3 separate regions of the Homo sapiens genome follow, and regions 1 and 2 are each linked to region 3. The links are contacts of gene promoters, found by promoter capture Hi-C in blood cells and fetal thymus (Javierre and others, 2016). All regions are on one chromosome and are shown on one strand. Each heading gives the region's core, a stretch centred on a gene start or on the middle of the fragment in contact. The rest is flanking DNA. Distances are from core to core; before and after follow the strand shown.

Evidence for each region. Contacts are between HindIII fragments. The CHiCAGO score rates a contact against its expected background, and 5 or more counts as called.
Region 1: a contact is called between a fragment that was not itself captured here and the fragment with the promoter of RPS26 in region 3, in 1 of 17 cell types (megakaryocytes). The highest score is 5.2, in megakaryocytes.
Region 2: a fragment that was not itself captured here is called in contact with the fragment with the promoter of RPS26 in region 3 in 13 of 17 cell types (endothelial precursors, M2 macrophages, megakaryocytes and 10 more); the score reaches 12.0 in endothelial precursors.

The regions. Positions count from the first base shown.
Region 1 is chr12:55,883,694-55,887,676 of GRCh38, forward strand. No RefSeq gene overlaps it. Among named protein-coding and RNA genes, the nearest start is that of PYM1, 42 kb to the right of the region's middle. The HindIII fragment of the contact is 830 bases long and covers 1,777-2,606 here.
Region 2 is chr12:55,793,626-55,797,596 of GRCh38, forward strand. It overlaps SARNP (SAP domain containing ribonucleoprotein), which reads right to left. Exons shown (of 11, transcript NM_033082.4): 5 at 2,400-2,451; 6 at 1,182-1,255; 7 at 734-762. Among named protein-coding and RNA genes, the nearest start is that of SARNP, 22 kb to the right of the region's middle. The HindIII fragment of the contact is 2,580 bases long and covers 76-2,655 here.
Region 3 is chr12:56,040,668-56,044,668 of GRCh38, forward strand. It overlaps RPS26 (ribosomal protein S26), which reads left to right and starts at 1,251. Exons shown (of 4, transcript NM_001029.5): 1 at 1,251-1,502; 2 at 1,758-1,935; 3 at 2,696-2,826; 4 at 3,452-4,001. The coding sequence starts at 1,500. The coding sequence ends at 3,487. RefSeq lists enhancers at 972-1,761, 1,210-1,539, 1,680-1,939 and a silencer at 1,000-1,059. The HindIII fragment of the contact is 3,314 bases long and covers 337-3,650 here.

The sequences.
Region 1 (3,983 bases), core at 942-3,441, 160 kb before region 3:
CAAAAAAAAAAGAAGCAAACACTGGTAGTGACCGTTCAAGGATGGTATTTGGGAGAATAAATCTTGGCAATGGACTTGAGTATTCAGGACACTTGACTAGGCCATCCCAACTGTGGAAGTAAATGCATCACACAATGGCAGCCTGATGTCTTCAATCTTTCTAGCGGTATAACTCACTCCCTGTATTAGTCCATTTTGCATTGCTATAACGGAATACCTAAGACTGGGTAATTTACAAAGAAAGGAGGTTAATTTGACTCACGGCCCTGCAGGCAGTACAAATATGGCACCAGTGAGGTCTTCCGAAGCTTTTACTCATGGCAGAAGGTGACGGGAGCAGTCGTGTCACATGGCGAGAGAGGAAGCAAGAGAGATTCCAGGCTCTTTTAAATAACCGGCTTTTGTGTGAGCTAATAGAGTGAGAACTCATTCATTACCATGGGGAGGGCACCAAGCCATTCATGAGGGATCTGCCCGCATGACCCAAACACCCACCTCCAGCCTCCAACATTGAAGGTCACATTTCAACATGAGATTTGGAGGGGACACACATCTAAACCAGGTCACTCCCCTAGTCCCAATTTCCATGCTGTGATAAGTTGAAAAATGTTCCCTGAAAAAAGATCTTAACTTCCTAATCCCTACAACCTGTAAACAATGCCTTATATGGCAAAAAAAAAAAAAAAAAAAAAGGTTGGGGGGCGGGGGGTGTCTTTGCAGATGTGATTAAGTTCAGGATCTTGAGATTATATTACTCTAGATTATGTGGCTGGGCCCCAAATACAATCACCTGTATCCTCATGAGAGAGAGAGAGATTTCACACACAAAGAGAGAAGACAATGTGAAGGAAGATAAAGGCAGGGATTGGAGTGATGCTGTCACAAACCAAGAAATGCTGGCAACTACCAGAAGCTGGAAAAGGCAAGGATTAGATTCTCCCCTATAGCCCCTGGGGAGGGAGAGTGCAGCCTTGTCAACACCTTGATTTTTCTTTCCTTTTTTTTTTTTCTGAGATAGAGTTTCACTCTTGTTGCCCAGGCTGGAGTGCAATGGTGCAAACTTGGCTCACTGCAACCTGTACCTCCTGGATTCAAATGATTCTCCTGCCTCAGCCTCCCAAGTAACTGGGATTACAGGCATGCACCACACACCCAGCTAATTTTGTATTTTTAGTAGAGATGGGATTTCACCACGTTGGTCAGGCTGGTCTCGAACTCCTGACCTCAGGTGATCCACCGGCCTCCCAAAGTGCTGGGATTACAGGTGTGAGCCACCGCACCTGGCTTTTTTTTCTTTTTCTGAGACAGGGTCTCGCTCTGCCACCCAGGCTGGAGTGCTGTGGCACAGTCATAGCTCACTGCAGCCTCCACCCCCTGGGCTCAATCGATCCTCCTAACTCACCCTCCCTAGTACTAGTAGCTCCCTAGTTGCTGGGACTACAGGCATGCACCACCATGCCTGGCCGACACCTTTGCTTTGATCCAGTGATACTGACTTTGGACTTCTAGCCTCTAGTACTTTGAGAGAATACATTTCTGCTATTTTAAGCCACCAAGTTGTGGTAATTTGTTATAGCAGTCACAGGAAACTAATATGCATACTCACCAAGTAACCTTCTGAATATAATTTGGTGAACCAAGGAGCAATGTTTGTGGGCAGTGAGAGTGCTGGTTGTGCTGACTCAAGTGTTCTATTCCTCATGGTAGGTTTGGTTTGTATAAAATGATAAACTGACATTCTAATTTATATGTTCTAGTTTATAAATCAGCCTTGTAAGCTTGACTAATATGGGTCTATCCTCAAGAATTGGATCTACTGTCTGTGCTGACAAAACCAGATGTCTGTAGGGATATTGGCAAGATCCAGACCATGGTCAACACATCAGGAAAAGAAATACTATTTTGTTGAGGTATCTTGAGAAGTACATACCTGGTTTCTCCTCATTTTCCATGATCTTACCATCAGTTCTCTATTTCAAAACTTCATCAATAATAACTAACTTTAGGCTGGGCATGATGGCTCATGCCTGTAACTCCAACACTTTGGGAAGCCCAGGCAGGAGGACCACCTGAAGCCAGAAGTTCACAACCAGCCTGGGCAATATAGCAAGACCCTGTCTCTACAAATAAAATTTAAAAATCAGCCCAGGCATTGTGGTGCATGCCTGTAGTCCTAGCTACTTGGGTGGCTGAGGTGAGAGGATTGCTTGAGCACAGTAGGTGGAAGTTGCAGTGAGCTGAGATCACGCCACGGCACTCCAGCCCAGGAGACAGAGGGAGACTCTGTCTCAAAAAGAAAAAAAAAAAAGAACTGAGATTTGAACCCGGTATTCTGAGAGCAAACCCTGGGAACTAGATTTGTTCAAAAAACAAACAGCTATATTATGTTTCATTATACACTAGGTACCAAGAATCATGGATTTAGAAATGGATAAGACTAGTCATTTCTACAGCCATGAGGAGCTCCTAACCTAGTAGGAATAAATAGAAATAATTCGCTGAATTTGCCTTTGTATTTTAGTGTTTGAGGATTGTTACAGCCTGCACTTTATTATCTGAAACACTATTGTTAGATAAGGCATTGTTTTTACAACCCATTTAAAACAAGCTTGTCACTCAAGGAGAGGAACTCCAGGCAGAAGGAATTCATATCAGGTTGGGCACTGTGGCTCACACCTGTAATCCCAGCACTTTGGGAGGCCAAGGCAGGTGGATCGCCTGAGGTAAGGAGTTCAAAACCAGCCTGGCTAACATGGTGAAACCCCATTTCTACTAAAAATGCAAAAAATTATCCGGGCATGGTGGCGCCTGCCTGTAATCCCAGCTACTCGGGAGGCTGAGGCAGGAGAATCTCTTGAACCCAGGAGGCAGAGGTTGCAGTGAGCTAAGTTCACGCCATTGCATTCCAGTTTGGGCAACAAGAGCGAAACTCCATCTCAAAACAACAACGACAACAACAACAAAATTAATCAGGCCTGGTGGTGCGTGCCTGTAATCCCAGCTACTTGGGAGGCTGAGGCAGGAGGAGGAGGAGGTTGCAGTGAGCTGAGATCACGCCACTGCGCTCTACCCTAGGCGACAAGAGCAAGATCCATCTCAAAAAAAAAATTATCCTTTTACAACATAGTTCTTTATTTTTTTTTCTAATCTATCTTCAGATAGAATAGTGGGTTTTGGGGTTTTTTTTGGTGGCTATATGGCATTTTATTGTATATCATATTATATTTCACCAGTGGTCTGTTTGGGGACATTAAAATTGAATTCTTTGTTTTTGTTTTGTTTTGTTCCATTTTGTTTTGTAAAACTACTCTTTAAAAATCCATATGACTAAATCTTTACACATCTCATTTTTTCCTTAGGAAAAATTCTTAGTATAATTACTGTGTCAAAGAAAATGTACCATCTTAGCTCTCTCGTTTTTAATTTTTTCCTTATTTTTTAATTGTGATAAAATATACATAACATAAAATGTACCATTTTAACCATCTTTTTGTCTGTGTGTGAGACTGAGTCTCACTCTGTCACCCAGGCTGGGTATAGTGACATACTTGTAGCTCACTGCAGTCTTGATCTTCTGGGGTCAAGCATTCCTCTCACCCCAGCCTCCTGAGTAGCTAGGACTACAGGCATGCACCACCATGCCTAGCTAATTTTTTAATGTTTTTATAGAAATGGGTTCTTGCTATATTACCCAGGCTGGTCTCAAACTCCTGACCTCAAGCAATCCTCCTGCCTCAGCCTCCCAAAGTGCTGGGAAAACAGGCATGAGCCACCACACTTGGCCATTTTAACTGTATTTAAGTGTATAATGCAGTGGCATTAAGTACATTCACAATGTGTTGTAACCATCACACGATTTCTAGAACTCTTCAATTATCCCAAACAAAAACTCTATATCCATAAAGCAATAACTCTCAATTCTCCCTCCTAGTCCTTGGCAACCGCTATTCTACTTATATCTATGAATACATCTATTCTAAGTA
Region 2 (3,971 bases), core at 116-2,615, 250 kb before region 3:
AAAAAAAAAAAATCCAAGTATAAGTGGACCTGTGCAGTTCAAACCTTGCTGAAGTGTCTACTATGTATCCTTCCAAGCTTTTTTCCTATCTATACATGCACTCTTACATGACTAAAATGGGAACGTACTGTTAATATAATTTTGTAACTTTTTTCATTAATATCTCTGATAAATATCTTTCAATATTATTTCAGCACAGTAGTCTGCTATACCATGGCACACATTTAATAACTAATTCTCTGTTGTACAGTTGGTTGTTTCCAGTTATTGATCACTATAAATAATGCTGTGATAATCCCTGAGGCTAAGTCTTTATGCACATTCAAGACTATTTCCTTATACGTTCCTAGAAGTAAAACTGTTAAGGTAGAAGATATTCTTTTCCCTTTTATCACTTATAATAGCCAGTATAACACTAGATAGTATGCAATAATTTTATGCAGTTGAGACCCCAGAATAAGTAAGCAAAGTACTAGAGAAACTTCTTTGAAGATGTTCAAGAAAAGACAGACAAATGTTGGCACTTCCTATCCTCTCATAACATTCAGTATCTCTCTTAATTGCCCAGGAAGGCCTAAGTATAATTTTACCTAAAGCAGGAGATGAATGTTACAATCTCTTAAAGAGTTTCTACAGCTAGCAAATTTACCTTATTTTGGAGAAATAAAACCTGTTATACCAGAAAAGAAAGAATAAAAAGGTAACTTTCTCAGAAGTATCTCTGTACTCTTACCTTTTGTTGGAACTGAAGAAATCCCAAACCTGAAGAAGGAAAAACAAACTAAATTTTAGGAAGCTGTTCACACTCCTGGTTTGTCTGTCTCCGTGTCAAGTATACATATGACACTTCTTGCTTGTGATCTCAAGCCTTGCAATCATTAGCTAATTCTAACAACCCCATGAAAGAGGTTCAGAAATTAAGCTAAAAGGAAGCCTTATCAGAATTAGTAGTAGTCAGTTCCTGGCTTTAACTGTTACAAAAACCCTTCTCAATAAAGCTCAATTTATAGCTACTATAACCAAATCAGTAGACATGTTCTGAATAGGGTCAAAAAAGTGTTCATATCCTTCAGCAAGCCTCTATTCTACTTAAAATCAACAATTATACCTAAAAGCTAGGATCACACATCTTCATCTTTACAACACCCCTATCAGAGGCCCAAAAGGCTGGGGACACTCACCTAGCTGCCCGAGCAGCTTTCTTACTCTCCAAGCTCACAGGTACATTGAATCGTTCAGCCCTCTTCTGCATTCTCTAAGTAAAAATAGACAAAAGGGAGAAAAAAAAGTCAATTTATGGTTTAAGAAAGTCAGTCAGAGGTAGGTATCTTTAAAAAAAAAAAAAAAAAAAAAAAAAAGAGTCTCACTCTGTCCCCCAGCCTGGAGTGCAGTGGCATGATCTCGGCTCACTGCAACCTCAGCCTCCTGGGTTCGAGCGATTCTCGTGGCTCAGCCTCCTGAGTAGCTGGGATTACAGGACTGTGCCACTGTGCCCAGCTAATTTTTGTGCTTTTAGTAGAAATGAGATTTCACCATGATGGCCAGGCTGATATTGAACTCCTGGCCTCAAGTGAACTGCCCACCTCAGCCTCCTAAACTGCTGGGATTACAAGCGTGAGCCACCTGGCCCAGCCAAAGGTAGGTATCTTAAAAACATCAGAAGTAATTTCTTAGGGTCTAAACTGAAAATACTGACAATCCTAGAAGATATCAGGTTGTGTCCATGCTAGGACTTAACGGCCCTTCCCACAAAGCAAACAAAAAAAGACTATTACTAGATGCCCTCAAAAACAAAAGGGAGAAATAAAGTAAAACCTACATTATGCATGAAGCCAAGAAGTCAAAAGCTATGTTTGGCTGACCTTTGAAAAGTGATCAAAGGAATAGCTTGGTTCCAACACCAATGGTATTCTTTCAGTTAGAAATGAGGCAGCATTGTTTTATGCCATTCTAAAAGAGTTTAATAATTCTCTACTTTGCAAGTATGATACTGAACACAAGATCTCAAATGGAACCTGGTTTCACAGTCCTGCACCACAGAAACCAGAGAAATTTCAATCTCAGCTACTGGCCAGTAGCAACATAAGAGTCACATCTACCAATACATTTTCAAGGTACAATCCTCCTAAATCTAATCCTAGGTTTGAAAACATCTCAAAGAGAGTCACTGTTAAGACCATAATATTACATATAAAAAGACTACAACTTCAAGAATGACTACCCCTACGCCAGCCAAATATTTTCCAAAGAGTAGCTGGCAGTGAAACGTATCAACACCAAAATCTGCCAATACTGATTTTCTGCCTGTGAATAAATTTTAGAGGATGATGCAGATATAATAAAGGGTAAGAGGGAGAGAGAAATGTAGAGACTGTTCTACTAGGGAGCAGAATACCTACCTCAGTCTGTGGTATTTCAGATGTAATTTTCACCACTTTCTTCTCTGCTGCCCTAGAAAAGAAAGAGATTTTTTAAAATGAGAAAACTGATATTCTAAACCACAACCTCAGAAATGTGTAAGAATTCACCTGAGTCACCATTCTCTGCCCTATTATCTCTCTGCCACCCCCTAAGCCAAAGAAACATGAAGTCCACTAGAGCTTTGGTTCCTTTAACTGTCATCTATTGAGAGGAAAGAGTTCAAATAACAAACTAAGCTTCTTTAGCTAAAGTATAATAAAGAAATAAGGAAAGAAGTCTGGTTAAATATACTGGGCTGAAGGGAAACACTCAAAGGACACCAGAAACCATCTCATTTGCTTTTAGGAACTTTTCAATTTACTTTTATTTTTCTGAGACGGAGTTTTGCTCTTGTCGCCCAGGCTGGAGTGCAATGGCACGATCTCAGCTCACTGCAACCTCCACCTCCTGGGTTCAAGAGATTCTCCTGCCTCAACCTCCTGAGTAGCTGGAATTACAGGCACCTGCCACCACGCCGAGCTAATTTTTGTATTTTTAGTAGAGATAGGGTTTCACCATGTTGGCCAGGCTAGTCACGAACTCCTGGCCTCAAGTGATCCACCCACCTCGGCCTCCCAAAGTACTGGGATTACAGGCATCAGCCACCGAGCCCAGCCTTTAATTTACTTTTGAACTAATGAGTAACCCTCCAATCCTCCTTTAAGTACCACCTCCCAATGTTCATCACAACAATTAATAAGTACTCTACAAGGTCTGGTTTCCTTCTTTTAAAAATCCCTTATTTCTCCCATGGGGAATGTAGCTCTAGCTGGAACAGTCAAAGTGAAACAAATAAAAATGCCAAAGAAGGTAGGAAGAAAAAAGTCTAAGGGGAGTTTGAATTAGGAAAACATGGTAAGCTAGTGGTCAAAGGTTTAAGAGGAAACAAAAGAGGGGGGACCACAGGGGCGGGAGACAAAGTTCGGAAGTACCCACGATAAATGGAAGGGCATTAACCCTCCACCAAACAACTCCCATAAAACTGTGGGTCATAACCAGTCTCATTAAGGTCCCTCATTTAGAGACATGGGCAGCTTTTGTTCCAATATCCTGAACACTTTTCCCATTTGATGCCCTGAAAGGTAGTAATGGTTTAATGACATTTTCAGAGGAAGCAATTCTGGAATAAGAACTTACTCTCTTCCACCCTTTTATTGGAAATCCCTGGACTGAAGACAAGCAATGGGTGCCCCCTGCTGACTATAACGAAGTCCTACGATATGTAACCGCTTTAGCTGGTTGGGGGTTGGGAATCAAACTAGAAACAGGTATATTTTTGGAGAACTTCAGGCCAAACATGAAGAAGGGGATCTCCTTTTAAATAGTCAAGGAATCTAAACTAGCCCTGGCTATTCTGACGTTTAAAGAAATTTCTAAACGCTTCCCATTTCCTTGCCATCCTTCCCTAACCTTGTCTTATAATTTAGGCACAAAAGGCTAAAGTTTAATGTTTTACTTGAAATCCAATGCCATCAAGAAAGTAGTACTCTCCATCAACCCCAGTGTAATGA
Region 3 (4,001 bases), core at 1-2,500:
TATTTTTAGTAGAGGTGGGGTGTCACTATGTTGACTAGGCTGGTCTTGAACTCCTGACCTCAGGTGATCCGCCTGCCTTGGCCTCCCAAAGTGTTGGGATTACAGGCGTGAGCCACTGCACCCAGCCTAAGGCTTAAGTCTTTCCGATGGCTCTTCAGAGGTAAATGGAGCTTACACATAATCTTTCAATTAGGGGTCAGATTCACTAATGAGTGGTGAAATAATTTTCGTGGTTTTTGATCAGCATTTATTAAAATAGAGAACAGAAAGATTAAGTAAAAATAAAGAATAGAACATACCAGCACACCTATGACAAGGGTAAGTATCGTTTCATAAAGCTTGTGTTTCAGTTTTGCATGTGCATGTAATCGTGTTTGTGTGTGTACTGGGTACCAATGTAAAATGTATTCGTGCTATGAATCTGGGTGAAAAACGTTTAAGTCATTAGTCCAGGCTATTCCTCCATCCATTTGTTAGGTGACATACAGCATAGTACAGCGGAGCCAGAATACCTACTGCACGTCAGTTCTTCAATCTTTTTTTTTAATTGATTTATTTATTTTTGAGACAGAGTTTCGATCTTTTTACCCAGGCTAGAGTGCAGTGGCGCGATCTCGGCTCACTGGAAACTCCGCCTCCCAGGTTCAAGATTCTCCTGTCTTAGCCTCCTGAGTACCTGGGATTACAGGCGCCCACCACCAGGCCGGGCTAAATTCTTCAATCTTTAAAGTGAGGATAATAATAGTAGCTACCTATAGGCTTGCTCAAAGTTAAATGAGTTAATATTTATAAAGACGCTTACCACAGGGCCAGGCACTGTGCCAGAGATAAAAAGATGAATGAGAAATAGCCCCAGCCTCAATGCACTTCATTGTGGGATTTTCTCCATATTGGAAGGAGGGATTCACAAAATGCTTGTTTCCTCTCAGGCCTTCCTCTTCGTAATCCTACACCTACCTAGTAGAAGGACTGTCAGAGAAATGAGCCCAGGGCGTCCCCCGGTGGCGCAGCGCCGCCTTCGGTCTAAGCACTTGGGGCAGGGGGGAAGGGGGGGAGGGGGGAGCCTCTTGGCTTCGCACTACAATTCCCACCAAGCATCTGTCCCTCTCTGGCCTCTAATAACGAGTGCGCCTTGTGGTCCAGCGTCTGGCAACTTTCACGCCTAGCGTCGCGTATACCGGAAAACTGCATCGTCCAGAATTGCTTCCGAGTCGGCGCGGCGCAAGGCTTGCTGGGAGACACATAACCTCGATTTTCTTCCGCCATCCGGCTAAATAGTCCCATGTGCACTTTGTTCCATGGATAAATAAACACTAGGAACGCATTTCCACCCTAGATTTCAGCAGAAATGCTGAATGTAAAGGAATATTTGAGTAAAGTGAGTTGCCGTTCTTGAAGCCCGTCTCCTAAGGATTCTCCCGGTGTCCGCGTAGGGATCTCATGCTATATAGGAGGGCCCTGCCAGGCACCGTCTCCTCTCTCCGGTCCGTGCCTCCAAGATGGTGAGTCTTCTTGCGTGGTGAGGGTGGGGGTTCGGGTGCAGACTCTGGGATTGTGGGGAAGTGAGAGCCTGGAGCACGGCTGAGGGGTGGACCGAGTGTACATTTCATTTGCTCTGGGGGTCGGCGGGATTTGCGGAGAAACAGGAGATCCGAGCGGCGCCTTCCTGGAGGCTGCCGGTGCGGCTTGTGGCCGGAAAGGGACTGAGGCTGGGTGAGTTGCGCCGTTTTCCTAACAGTTTTCCCATCCTGTCGCAGACAAAGAAAAGAAGGAACAATGGTCGTGCCAAAAAGGGCCGCGGCCACGTGCAGCCTATTCGCTGCACTAACTGTGCCCGATGCGTGCCCAAGGACAAGGCCATTAAGAAATTCGTCATTCGAAACATAGTGGAGGCCGCAGCAGTCAGGGACATTTCTGAAGCGAGCGTCTTCGATGGTAAGTGGGTCACCGGCGCGAACTGTGTGAGGATCCCAGTATCTTAAAGCCTTCGCCCAACTTCGCCCTTTTGGAGGCTCTGTTCTTTGGAGCCTCTCAGGCAATTTCCACGTATTTAAGGTTGTTACTGGTAGAAGAGAATTCTCTTGTTTGCCGTTTTGATTCTTTTCTGGGCAGAGGGTGACTTTGTGATAGAGTGCACAGCCTTTACTCTGAGGTAAAGGTTTGCCTGTTTCGGTTATGAGATTGCAAAAACTAGAAACTTGGTAAATTTGACAATTCTTGTGCTATTGATTATTTGAATATTTGTGAAAATATACAGGTGAGGAAGAATGTCTTCAACGTTTCGAGAATGGAGGCCGTCTAGTTTGGTGTGCAAGGATGATGTTTGGAGCAATAAGAACGTCGCTTTGTTTTTTTCCTTTTATAGAAAGAGCAAGGTTCAGGGTAGGCATTAGGGCGGGTGTAGGTGTAGAAGGAACTGGATTATTGGTTTATTGCATTTAGAATGTCAGTCTGGTCCTTGCGGTGTCAAGATGAACTCACGTGGGATGTTAATTCACTTGTAAAACTGAGGGTTATACATATGTGCTCAGGTATTGGGCTGAACAGGTGCTTTGGGGGTGCTTTTATGTGCCCGACAGGCATTTAAATAGGTTTAGTTTTAATTGACGTAAACATGTAAGGTGCTCTTCATTCATGTAACAAAAAAGCAAGGTAGGTATATAATACCAGTATAACTCTATTTTCTATTCCTTAGCCTATGTGCTTCCCAAGCTGTATGTGAAGCTACATTACTGTGTGAGTTGTGCAATTCACAGCAAAGTAGTCAGGAATCGATCTCGTGAAGCCCGCAAGGACCGAACACCCCCACCCCGATTTAGACCTGCGGTGAGTATTTTAAAAGGAGAATGGAAGCCAGGGGAGTGATGGTTAAAATTTCATCCTGGAGGGTCAGGGTGTCCTATACCTGTAACCTCAACACTTTGGGAGGCTGGGACAAGAAGATTGCTAGAAACCAGCAGTTCAAGACCCCATCTCTTCAAAAAATATTGAGAAGGAAGCCAAGCATGATAGTGTGAACCTATAGTCTGGCTGCTCGAGAGGCTGAGGCAGGAGGATCACTTGAGCCCAGGAGTTTGAGGTTGCAGTGAGCTATGATTATACCACTTGCGCTCCAGCCAGGGCAAAAGTGAGACCTTGTCTCTTAAAAAAAAAAAAAAGTTGCTTCCTCCTGTGGTGCAGGGGGTATCAAATTAAGGTCTGTGCCTCAGGTTAAGCTGTAAGGCAGGTGAGACCCACACCTGAACATGCTTAGAGACACTGCAAAGCAGTGTTAGAATCAGAATTGGTTTTTAGGATGCAGAGTAGTGTTCTCCCTCCACCTCTATCAGCTTCCCATGCATTTGTAGCCTGAATACATCAGTTTGTGAGAGGATGGTGGTCAAGTTCTTTGGGGGAAGGGAGTCTTGGATCCATGGGTTTTAATTTACTCTTTTGTTTCTTTGTCTTTCAGGGTGCTGCCCCACGTCCCCCACCAAAGCCCATGTAAGGAGCTGAGTTCTTAAAGACTGAAGACAGGCTATTCTCTGGAGAAAAATAAAATGGAAATTGTACTTAATATTGCATGTTAAGTGTATCTGTGCCAGATAAGGTGGGGATTTTGTGTGTTAGACCAAGTGTGAAGTGACACACATTATTTTCATGGGGAAGAAAGCTTATTCATGTAATTTAATTTTTTTCTTTTTTTTTTTTTTTTTTTTGAGACGGAGTCTTTGTCGCCCAAGCTGAATTGCAGTGGCGTGATCTCAGCTCACTGCAACCTCCGTCTCCCGGGTTCAAGTGATTCTCCTGCCTCAGCTTCTTGAGTAGCTGGGATTACAGGTGTCTGCCACCATGCCTGGTTAATTTTTGTATTTTTGGTAGAGATGGGGTTTCACTATGTTGTCCAGGCTGGTCTTGAACTTCTGACCTCAGTTAATCCACCAGCCTTGGCCTCCCAAAGTGCTGGGATTACAGGCTTGAGCCACCTCGCCTAGCTATTTATGTAAATTAAACTTTAATTG